2 separate regions of the Homo sapiens genome follow, and region 1 is linked to region 2. Evidence: promoter capture Hi-C in human tissues and cell types (Jung and others, 2019). All regions are on one chromosome and are shown on one strand. Each heading gives the region's core, a stretch centred on a gene start or on the middle of the fragment in contact. The rest is flanking DNA. Distances are from core to core; before and after follow the strand shown.

Region 1 (6,050 bases), core at 2,761-5,260, 270 kb after region 2:
AGGGCCTGGGACTAGCATGCTGACCTCCCTCCTGCCCCAGGTTGGATGATTGACTCTGAATGTCGGCCAAGATTCCGGGAGTTGGTGTCTGAATTCTCCCGCATGGCCAGGGACCCCCAGCGCTTTGTGGTCATCCAGGTACTGGGCCTCTGTGCCCCATCCCTGCCTGTGGCTAAGAGCACCCTCCTGCAGAGGGTGGGAAGGAGAGATGAGTCCAGTATGCCAGGCCCCTCACGGAAGGCTGCATGCTGGGCTGGGGAGGGGCCACCATCCTGCCTCTCCTTCCTCCACAGAATGAGGACTTGGGCCCAGCCAGTCCCTTGGACAGCACCTTCTACCGCTCACTGCTGGAGGACGATGACATGGGGGACCTGGTGGATGCTGAGGAGTATCTGGTACCCCAGCAGGGCTTCTTCTGTCCAGACCCTGCCCCGGGCGCTGGGGGCATGGTCCACCACAGGCACCGCAGCTCATCTACCAGGGTCAGTGCCCTCGGTCACACTGTGTGGCTGTCTGCTTACCTCCCCCAACCCCGGTGGACTAGGGTCCCTTTCTCTGATGTTCCCTCAACTGTCACCTCTCAAGGAAACCCCATTATCCCTACAAAAAATTCTTACTGCCTTCCAACCCCTGTGACCCCATTCTCTCCACGGTGACTGTGTCATACCCCAAAGGTGACCTCTGTTTTTCTCCTGTGACCCTGTCACCTTCCATGGAGTCCCCATCCCAGATCCGTGAGTGACCCCCATCATGACTTTCTTTCTTGTCCCCAGAGTGGCGGTGGGGACCTGACACTAGGGCTGGAGCCCTCTGAAGAGGAGGCCCCCAGGTCTCCACTGGCACCCTCCGAAGGGGCTGGCTCCGATGTATTTGATGGTGACCTGGGAATGGGGGCAGCCAAGGGGCTGCAAAGCCTCCCCACACATGACCCCAGCCCTCTACAGCGGTACAGTGAGGACCCCACAGTACCCCTGCCCTCTGAGACTGATGGCTACGTTGCCCCCCTGACCTGCAGCCCCCAGCCTGGTATGGAGTCCAGTCTAAGCAGAGAGACTGATGGGCAGGGGAGGTGGGACCTTCAGCCCAGGGTCCACTGTGGGGGCAGAGGGAGTGGCAGAGACACCGGGGTTCCTTCCCCTAATGGGTCACCTTCTCTTGACCTTTCAGAATATGTGAACCAGCCAGATGTTCGGCCCCAGCCCCCTTCGCCCCGAGAGGGCCCTCTGCCTGCTGCCCGACCTGCTGGTGCCACTCTGGAAAGGCCCAAGACTCTCTCCCCAGGGAAGAATGGGGTCGTCAAAGACGTTTTTGCCTTTGGGGGTGCCGTGGAGAACCCCGAGTACTTGACACCCCAGGGAGGAGCTGCCCCTCAGCCCCACCCTCCTCCTGCCTTCAGCCCAGCCTTCGACAACCTCTATTACTGGGACCAGGACCCACCAGAGCGGGGGGCTCCACCCAGCACCTTCAAAGGGACACCTACGGCAGAGAACCCAGAGTACCTGGGTCTGGACGTGCCAGTGTGAACCAGAAGGCCAAGTCCGCAGAAGCCCTGATGTGTCCTCAGGGAGCAGGGAAGGCCTGACTTCTGCTGGCATCAAGAGGTGGGAGGGCCCTCCGACCACTTCCAGGGGAACCTGCCATGCCAGGAACCTGTCCTAAGGAACCTTCCTTCCTGCTTGAGTTCCCAGATGGCTGGAAGGGGTCCAGCCTCGTTGGAAGAGGAACAGCACTGGGGAGTCTTTGTGGATTCTGAGGCCCTGCCCAATGAGACTCTAGGGTCCAGTGGATGCCACAGCCCAGCTTGGCCCTTTCCTTCCAGATCCTGGGTACTGAAAGCCTTAGGGAAGCTGGCCTGAGAGGGGAAGCGGCCCTAAGGGAGTGTCTAAGAACAAAAGCGACCCATTCAGAGACTGTCCCTGAAACCTAGTACTGCCCCCCATGAGGAAGGAACAGCAATGGTGTCAGTATCCAGGCTTTGTACAGAGTGCTTTTCTGTTTAGTTTTTACTTTTTTTGTTTTGTTTTTTTAAAGATGAAATAAAGACCCAGGGGGAGAATGGGTGTTGTATGGGGAGGCAAGTGTGGGGGGTCCTTCTCCACACCCACTTTGTCCATTTGCAAATATATTTTGGAAAACAGCTAGGCACCGGCCTATGTCTGGGGGTGGCTCTGTGCCATCCCTTCCTGCTCACCTTACACTCAATTCCTCTTTTCCTGGAGGGAGTGGCTGGGAATCTTCAGAAAGCTTGGATGAGGAGCCAGACATCCAGTTCTCCAGCTTCAGGGTTGGGGGAGATCGGGAAGCTGGATTCAGATCTGAGAGCCCTTTGACGACCAGATCATTCTTATTTAGAACGAACTAATTCCTAAGGCCACTCACCAGAATGGGGTTATTTCCTCCTTGTGAGTGAGGAGAGTGGTGGGTAGGGTGGGGGAAAGACGAGGCAGGGTCTACTGTGGGACTCATTTTCCTTGCCTTGGCTATGCCAGAGGAGCTCACTGACCTAAGGAGTAGCTGTCCAGAAAGCCCACCCAGCCAGCACAGCCACCCTGGCGGTGCAAAGGCTGGGCTGACCGGACTTCTGTGCCCCCCACATTCCCAGACTGGACGTATAAAAACACACACTAGTTAGCATTAGTGTTTGTAGCGCCACTTTACTGCCAATAGCTGACATTGCCCTGGGTTAGGGGAGAATAAATAAAATCTGTGGCATCAGACAGGTATTACCGAGGCGAAGAGTGGACTGGGCTTTCGTGGGCACTTACCCTGGGAAGGGGGTATGAGGTGGCTGGAGAAGTGTTCATGGAGAGTGTCTCTCTCCTGCCCCCAAGGCCACGGAATCTTCTATTCCTTCTTTGTACCCAAAGGGCAAAGTGGAGGCCAGGGTCTCTTTGCTAAGGAGCTAAGTAGGGGAAAGAGGCAGGGGGAGCTCCCAGCAGGACCAAAGGGAGACCAAGGTTTGGACCCCAGAACAGAGCAGGAACCCAGAGTCCTGTGCAGTCACAGGATGACGCAGGGAGGACGGCTGTTGGTGATCTTTTCTAGGGTTTCTCCATTACTGGCTCTTCGGATGGCCTCAATGAGCTAGAGGAGTGGAATGACAGGATGATGCACTGTTGGGGTAGGGTGACCAAGAGGTCCTCCCAACGCTGTAAATACTCACATCTTTCTCATAGGGAAAGCCCCCATTCTCCAGCTTGGAGAACACCAGCTGTCCATTTATCTCTATCTCAAAGGCACCTGGTAAGAAATCAACAGATAAATGGTACACTGAGAACATAGGCAGAAGTCAGGAGTTCCTCCAAAGGGGTCCCCCGCCTTCAAGTCCCCCATCAATCCCACTGGAGACCCATTTGTAGCTCCTTAAGCAATTCCCCAACCCTGGGTCAACTCCAGGGAACCTGAGGGAGGCCTCGCCTGTGTGCCCCTCGCAACACTCAATAAAGGACTCCCTCCCCTCCAACCCTACACGATTGCAGTCTAATAGGTTTTTCCCCACAGGCCTCTGTGACACCCCCTGACCTATGGAAGGGAACTCATGTTGGCCGGACATTTTACCATGTGCCAGGCACTGCGGGCACTTTACATAAAGCAGCCAATGTCAGAACTAGAAAGCGGGAGAGCTGGGATTCAGAGCACAGACTGACCCAGCAGGTGTTCTGCGAGCCTCACCTGTGCCCCCGAGGCGCGACTCGATCTCGATGCCCGGATACTGCTCCTTCACAGCACTGGCCAGCTCCAGGTAGGTCGCCTCGAAGCCGCAGGGTTCACTGGGGAGTCAAGAGATGGGGCTGGGCTGGGGATTCGGGGGTGGGGCCTCCCGTGGACCCACCTCCGTCCGGCCCGCGGGACCAGGGTGCGGGTCCTCCAGCCGGGGCCGCTCACCAGTACTCCACCACGATGCGGACCCCACTGCCCGGCTCGACCTCCTCGGGAGGGGGCGCTACGGACGTCTGCCCCGGCTCCCCGCTCATCGCGGCCGGCTCCGCTCGGGCCCCTGCTTCCGGGTGTGACGCGAACCGCGGGCACGTGACGGGGCGGGGCCTCTGGAGCGGGGAGGGGCCGAGGGTGGCGTTCGGGCGCCCCCTGCGGGTCTCCGCCACTGCTACGTTTTGACCTCGTAGGGCAGCTCCGGAGCTCGCTCCCCGGGCAGGGGCTGGGTCCGGTCCAGACCCTCCTTCCCTGGCCCGGTCTCCCGGAGTGCCGGGCTTCCCCACTCCCCACTCCCGGTGTCCGCTGGACTTCATGGCTTCATTTACTCTAATGGACTATCTTAGACTGCAAAGCGCTTTTCAGTTTACAAAAGAAAGAGAAAGTGGTGGGGCAAGCATCCTGGGGATGGGGGTGGGTGTGGCTGATGCATGAAATAGTTGACATTTTCTCGCTAACATGCCGATGGCATTTTTTTTTTTTTTTTTTTTGAGACGGAGTTTCGCTCTTGTTGCCCAGGCTGGAGTGCAATGGCGCGATCTCGGTTCACTGCAACCTCTGCCTCCCGGGTTCAAGCGATTCTTCTGCCTCAGCTTCCCGAGTAGCTGGGACTACAGGCGCGTGCCACCGCACCCGGTTAATTTTGTATTCTTAGTAGAGACAGGGTTTCATCATGTTGGTCAGGCTGGTCTCGAACTCTTGACCTCAGGTGATCCACCAGCCTCGGCCTCCTAAAGTGCTGGAATTACAGACATGAGCCACCGCGCCTGGCCCAGTTTTTTGTTTGTTTGTTTGTTTGTTTTAGTAGAGACAGGGTTTCACCATGTTCGCCAGACTGGTCTCGAACTCCTGACCTCAAATGATCTGCCTGCCTTGGCCTCCCAAAGTGCTGGGATTACAGGCGTGAGCCACCACGCCCGGTGCTGATGGCATTTGGAACCACCCTGTAGTTACATACACAAGTGTTTCTGATCCCAAAGCTCTAAACTGCTTTTTCCAGTCTTTTGCAGCTGCTTCTTGCCTGCACTGGAAAACAGTAGATGCTCTTCAGGCTCTGTGCCCCCAACAGTTTCTGCGCATCCCTTCTCATCCAGCCTCTCACTGGGGGGCTGGCGTCATTATTCCCATTTTGCAGCTCTGGAAATGGAGTCTGCACAAGTCCTCGCTGCCTTTTCCCTGCCTACAGTACCACTATGGTATCCTAACACGCCACCCACTCTAGTGTCCCTTTAGGCTATTTATTTATTTATTTATTTATTTTGAGATGGAGTCTCACTCTGTCACCCAAGCTTGAGTGCAGTGGCGCGATCTTGGCTCACTGCAACCTCCACCTCCTGGGTTCAGGCGATTCTCCTGCCTCAGTCTCCCTAGTAGCTGAGATCATAGGTGCCAGCCACCACGCCCAGCTAACTTTTGTATTACTATTATTATTATTTTTTTGAGACAGAGTCTTGCTCTGTTGGCCAGGCTGGAGTGCAATGGTGCGATCTCGGCTTACTGCAACCTCTGCCTTCCGGCCTCAAGTGAGTCTCCTGTCTCAGCCTCCTGAGCAGCTGGGATTACAGGTGCCCACCACCAAGCCAGCTAATTTTTCTATTTTTAGTACAGATGGGGTTTCACCATGTTGGCCAGGCTGGTCTCGAACTCCTGAAGTTGTGATCTGCCCATCTTGGCCTCCCAAAGTGCTGGGATTACAGGTGTGAACCACTGCACCCGGGCTCATTTTTTTTTTTTTTAAACCAGGCAGGTCGTAGTGGCTCACACCTGTAATCCCAGCGTTTTGGGAGGCCAAGGTGGGCGGATCACTTGACGCCAGGAGTTCAAGACCAGCCTGGCCAACTCGACAAAACCCTGTCTCTACTAAAAATACAAAAATTAGCTGGGTGTGGTGGCGCACCAGCTACTCCAGAGGCTGAGGCAGGAGAATCGCTTGAACCTGGGAGGTGGAGGTTGCAGTGAGCTGAGATCTCACCACTGCACTCCAGCCTGGGTGACAGAGTGAGACTGTGTTCCAAAAAAAAAAGAAAAGAAAAGAAAAGAAAGAAAATGCAGTGATTTGTACTGTTGCCTAACCATCACTACAATCCAGTTACAGAATGTTTCCGTCAACCTGATAAGTC
Region 2 (5,985 bases), core at 796-3,295:
TGTTACGATTACAGGCATGAGCCACTGTGCCCGGCCCAGAGGACTCTAAACCTAAAATCTAAACTAACAAATTGGTTTGTTGGGGAAAAAGAGCTATTGAAACTTTAGTTAAATATTTCTTCTTGTGTACAGCCTAAATGGAAACTTTCTGACTTGTTTTAGTAGATTTGCAGGCTAAGTATTGCCATCACCTGACTGATCACTTGGGGTTCACAGAGTTGCCCTGACTCTCTGCCCTTGAAGGTTATGCAAATAAAGCAAATGGAGCAGTCCTGGAATTTCTGAGTTCAAAGTTTTTCTGTATAATGAAGCAACCCTTATTTTACAAAAGCACAGATTGGATCAATACCTGCAGTTTACAGTAGATATTGTATTTTAAAATTTAGATACAGCCTGAGATTTTCTGCTGCAGAATTTTATTCACCAAAAAGAGGAATACCATGTTAGGGAGATTATCTAAAAGAAAGAGAGAGAGAGAAAGAAAGGAAAAGAAGGAAGGAAGGGAGGGAGGGAGGAAGGAAGGGTAGTTCAATACAAAGTACTGGTTTAGTATGTAGAAGTGAGGTGTCCCGGCTCCAGGCACTTTCTACACTTAAGTGTCAACATGGTCCAATCTAACTCCTTCTCAGTGTCAGTTTAACCTATATTAGATGTCGATAATAAGTGGCTCACGCCTATAATCCCAGCCCTTTGGGAGGCTGAGGTGGGTGGATCACTTAAGGTCAGGAGTTCGAGAACAGCCTAGCCAACATGGCCAAAGTCTGTCTCTACTAATAATACAAAATACAAAATAATACAAAAAAATTAGCCGGGCATGGTGGCGCATGCCTGTAATCCCAGCTATTTGGGAGGCTGAGGCAGGAGAATTGCTTGAACCTGGGAGGTGGAGGTTGCAGTGAGCCAAGATCCTGCCAGTGCACTCCAGCCTAGGCCACAGATTGAAACTGTTCTCAATAAGCATAATAATAATAATAGGCCTGGTGCGGTGTGGTGGCTCATGCCTGTAATCGTGCCACTGCACTCCAGCCTGGGCGACAGAGGGAGACTTAGTCTCAAAAAAAAAAATAAAAATAGTAATAAAAATAACATAATTTCATTAGTTTATTTATTCAATTGAAATTTATTGACGGGATTAAAAGAGTTCCGTGAAAAATTTTAAAGTGCTATAGAAATTCAAGATATTATAAGTTCAAAGTTTCAGGGATAAAGCTTCATTCTTTCATTAGTTACTGGTCTCTAATTGGCTTCAAGAGGCAGTAACAGATAATTTTGAAAGGTTCAGCCAGGTGCAGTGGCTCACGCCTGTAATACAAACACTTTGGGAGGCCGGGGCGAGCAGATCACGAGGTCAGGAGATCAAGACCATCCTGGCCAACACAGTGAAACCCGGTCTCTACTACAAATACAAAAAATTAGCCGGGCATGGTGGCAGGCACCCGTAATCCCAGCCATTTGGGAGGCTGAGATAGGAGAATGGTGTGAATCCGGGAGGCGGAGCTTGCAGTGAGCCGAGATCGAGGCGAAGCTTGCAGCGAGACGAGATCGCACCACTGCACTCCAACCTAGGTGACAGAGTGAGACTCCGTCTCAAAAAAAGAAAAAAAGTTTCTGCTGGTGTTTAATCTGGATAATCAATTTAATTCTTCCAGATTTTGACACATCACCGATGCCTTCTGTCGTCTTCACTTTTCCATTCTACTGTGGGTACATCGTGAATTAAAAACTTGATCTCAGCCAGGCACAGTGGCTTGCACCTGTAATCCCAGCACTTTGTGAGGCCAAGGCGGGGGGTGATCACAAGGTCAGGAGTTCAAGACCAGCCTGGCCAAGATGGTGAAACCACGTCTCTATTAAAAATTAAAAAAAAATCATCTGAACATGGTGGCAGGCGCCTGTAATCCCAGCTACTGAGAAGGCTGAGGCAGAGAATTGCTTGAACCTGGGAGGCGGAGGTTGCAGTGAGCCGAGATGAAGCCATTGCACTCCAGCCTAGGCAACAGAGGGAGACTCCATCCCAAAAAAAAGGCCAGGCATGGTGGCTCACACCTGTAATCCCAGCCCTTTGGGAGGCCAAGGCGGGTGGATCATGAGGTCAGGAGTTCAAGACCAGCCTGATCAACATGGTGAAACCCCGTCTCTACTAAACATACAAAAATTAGCCAGGCATGGTGGCGTGTGCCTGTAATCCCAGCTACTAAGAAGGCTGAGGCAGGAGGATCGCTTGAATCAGAGAGGCAGAGGTTGCAGTGAGCCAAGATAGTGCCACCGCACTCCAGCCTGGCAACGGAGCAAGACTCCATCTCAAAAAAAGAAATTAAAAATAAAAACCTGATCTCATTTAAAAGACAGAAAAATCAGGGTGAATTTTATTGAACTCATGACAACAAACCCATGCCAACACTTACTATGGCTGACTGGTCACTACATTTAATCAGCCCAGGAAGTCTCATGCCATCTGTCATCATGTAAAACATTCAAGGCCAGACACAGTGGCCCATGCCTGTATTCCGAGCATCTTGGGAGTCCAGGTGGGAGGATCCCTTGAGCCGAGGACTTCAAGAGCAGCCTGGGCAACATAGCAAGACCCCGTCTTTACAAAAAATAAAAAAAAAATTAGCCAGGCTCTGTGGCTTACACCTGTAATCCCAGCCAGGAGAGGCTGAGGCTGGAGGATTGCTTGAGCTCAGGAAGTGAAGATGGCAGTGTGTCAGCCGGACACAGTGGTTCACACCTGTAATCCCAGCCCTTTGGGAGGCCAAGGTGGGTGGATCACCTGAGGTCAGGAGTTCGAGACCAGCCTAGCCACATGGCGAAACCCCATCTCTACTAAAAATACAAAAATGAGCCGGGCATGGTGGCAGGCGCCTGTAATCCCAGCTACTCAGGAGGCTGAGGCAGGAGAATCACTTGAACCCAGGAGGTGGAGCTTGCACTGAGCCGAGATCGTGCCATTGCACTCCAGCCTGGGGGACAAGAGCGAGACTTCATCTCAAAAAAAAAAAAAAAAAGACTGCAGTGTGTCATGGTCATACCACTGTACTCCAGCCTGGGCAACAGAGCAAGACCTTGTCTCAAGAAAATAAATCCAGGTTGTCCTGGCAACACTGTACTCCAGCCTGGGCAGCACAGCAAGACCTTGTCTCAAGAAAATATATCCAGGGTGTCCTATCCTCCTATAGCGGTGAATAAGGAGTGTTCACAACTGAGTTCCAGTACTTGTGTTTTTCTTTTCTTTTCTTTTTTTTTTTTTTTTTTGGAGACAGTTTCACTCTTGTTGCCCAGGCTGAGTGCAATGGCACCATCTCATCTCACCGCAACCTCCACCTCCCGGGTTCAAGCAATTCTCCTGCCTCAGCCTCCCTAGTAGCTGAGATTACAGGCATGTGCCACCACGCTGGGCTAATTTTTGTATTTTTAGTAGAGACGGGGTTTCTTCTTGTTGGTCAGGCTGGTCTTGAACTCCTGACCTCAGGTGATCTGCTTGCCTCGGCCTCCCAAAGTACTGGGATTACAGGCGTGAGCCTCCATGCCTGGCCCGTGTTTTTCTTTTTTCTTTTCTTTTTTGAGGCAGGTTCTTGTTCTGTTACCCAGGCTGGAGTGCAGTGGCATGATCATGGCTCATTGCAGCCTTGACCTCCTGGGCTCAAGTGATCCTCCCATCTCAGCCTCATAGTAGCTGGGACTATAGGCAAGCAACACCATGCCTGGTTAATTTCTTGTTTTTGTTTGTTTGTTTTTGGTAGGGACGGAGTCTCGCTCTGTCGCCCAGGCTGGAGTGCAGTGGCGTGATCTTGGCTCACTGCAAGCTCTGCCTCCTGGGTTCAAGCAATTCTCCTGCCTCAGCCTCCCGAATAGCTGAGAATACAGGCCCACACCACTACGCCTGGCTAATTTTTTTTTTTTTTTTTGAGACAGAGTTTCTCTTTTGTTGCACAGGCTGGAGTGCGATGGCCCAATCTCGGCTCACTGCAACCTCCGCCTCCTGCGTTCAAGCGATTCTCCTGCCTCAGCCTCCCGAGTAGCTGGGATTACAAGCATGGGCCACCATGCCCAGCTAATTTTTTAGTATTTTTAATAGAGACGGGGTTTCTCCATGTTGGTCGGGCTGGTCTCGAACTCCCGACCTCAGGTGATCCGCCCGCCTCAGCCTCCCAAAGTGCTGGGATTACAGGCGTGAGCCACCAAGCCCGGCGGCTAATTTCTTTTGTATTTTAGTAGAGATGGGGTTTTACCGTGTTGCCCAGGCTGGTCTCAAACTCCTGAACTCAGGCAATTTGCCTGCCTCGGCCTCCCAAATTGCTGGGATTACAGGCATGAGCCACCTTGCTCGGCCTGTCATTTCTTGTATTTTTTTGTAGAGACAGATGTCTCAACATGTTGCCCAGGCTGGTCTCCAATTTCTGGGCTCACGAATTCCTTCCATGTTGGCCTTCCAAATTGTTGGTTTTACAGATGTCAGCCACCACACTCAGCCCTTTTTTCTTTTTGTTAGCCACTTTTTTTTTTTTTTAGATGGATTCTCACTCTGTTGCCCAGGTTGGAATGCAGTGGTGCAATCTTAGCTCACTGCAACCTCTGCCTCCCAGGTTCTAGTGATTCTCATGCCTCAGCCTCCTGAGTAGCTGGAATTACAGGCATATGCCACCATGCCTGGCTAATTTTTGTGTGTGTGTATATATAAATATATATATATTTTTTTGTTGTTTGTTTGTTTGTTTTTGAAACAGAGTCTTGCTCTGTCACCCAGGCTGGAGCGCAGTGGCACGATCTTGGCTCACTGCAACTTCTGCGTTCTGGGTTCAAGCGATTCTCCTGTCTCAACCTCCTGAATATCTGTGATTACAGGCGATCACCACCACGCCTGACTAATTTTTGTATTTTTAGTAGAGATAGGATTTCACTGTGTTGGCCAGGCTGGTCTTGAACTGCTGACCTCAAGTGGTCCTCCCACTTCGGCCTCCCAAAGTGCTGGGATTACAGGCATGAGCCACAGTGCTTGGCCTCTAATTTTTTTTTTTTTTGAGGCAGAGTCTTGCTCTGTTGCCCAGGCTGGAGTGCAGTAGCGTGATCTCCCCTCACTGCAATCTCTGCCTCCCAGTAGCGTGATCTCCCCTCACTGCAATCTCTGCCTCCCGGGTTCACACCATTCTCCTGCTTCAGCCTCCTGAGTAGCTGCGACTACAGGCACCCGCCACCACGCCCAGCTAATTTTTTTGTATTTTTAGTAGAGACGGGGTTTCACCGTGTTAGCCAGGATGGTCTCGATCTCCTGACCTCCTGATCTGCCCGCCTCGGCTCCCAAAGTGCTGGGGTTACAGGAGTGAGCCACTGCGCCCGGCCTATTTTTGTATTTTTAGTAGAAACAGGGTTTCACTGCATTGGCCAGGCTGGTCTTACTCCTGACCTCAAATGATCCTCCCCTCTTGGCCTCCCAAAGTGCTGGGATTACAGGCATGAGCCACTGCTCCCAGCCACTTCTTTTTTCTTGATAGCATTAATTTTACTTCCATAGAAGATCAAAAAGTTGTCGTGGAAAACTTGGTCTTTTTATTTTTTAAATTTTTTTATTATTTACTTATTTATTTTGAGACGGAGTCTTGCTCTGTTGCCAGGCTGGAGTGCAGTGGCGCGATCTCGGCTCGCTGCAACCTCTGCCTCCAGGGTTCAACCTCTGCCTCAGCCTCACGAGTAGCTGGGACTGCAGGTGTGTGCCACCAAGCCCAGCTAATTTTTGTGTTTTTAGTAGAGACGGGGTTTCCCCATGTTGGCCAGGATCGTCTCCATCTCTTGACCTTGTGATCTGCCCACCTTGGCCTCCCAAAGTGCTGGGATTACAGGAGTGAGCCACTGTGCCTGGCCTGATCTTTTTATTTTAGAACCAATATTTATGGACTCAATCATTTAGAGACGGCGGGCGTGGTGGCTCACGCCTGTAATCCTAACACTTTGGGGGCCAAAGTGGATGGAATGCTTGAGCCCAGGCAT

Evidence for each region. The method cuts DNA at HindIII sites, captures the fragments that hold promoters and counts their contacts. A contact is called where the count stands out against the background at its distance.
Region 1: the fragment with the promoter of MIEN1 here is called in contact with a fragment that was not itself captured in region 2 in 2 of the 25 tissues and cell types used here (aorta and liver).

Annotation. Positions count from the first base shown.
Region 1 is chr17:39,726,522-39,732,571 of GRCh38, forward strand. MIEN1 (migration and invasion enhancer 1) reads right to left here and starts at 4,011. Exons shown (of 4, transcript NM_032339.5): 1 at 3,886-4,011; 2 at 3,673-3,770; 3 at 3,164-3,240; 4 at 1,989-3,084. The coding sequence starts at 3,974. The coding sequence ends at 3,001. It overlaps ERBB2 (erb-b2 receptor tyrosine kinase 2), which reads left to right. Exons shown (of 27, transcript NM_004448.4): 24 at 41-138; 25 at 294-482; 26 at 774-1,026; 27 at 1,168-2,137. The coding sequence ends at 1,523. MIR4728 (microRNA 4728) reads left to right here; the gene lies at 1-40. RefSeq lists an enhancer at 1-754 and a silencer at 3,693-4,252. The HindIII fragment of the contact is 5,525 bases long and covers 3,732-6,050 here.
Region 2 is chr17:39,453,567-39,459,551 of GRCh38, forward strand. No RefSeq gene overlaps it. Among named protein-coding and RNA genes, the nearest start is that of CDK12, 4.9 kb to the right of the region's middle. The HindIII fragment of the contact is 5,170 bases long and covers 1-4,630 here.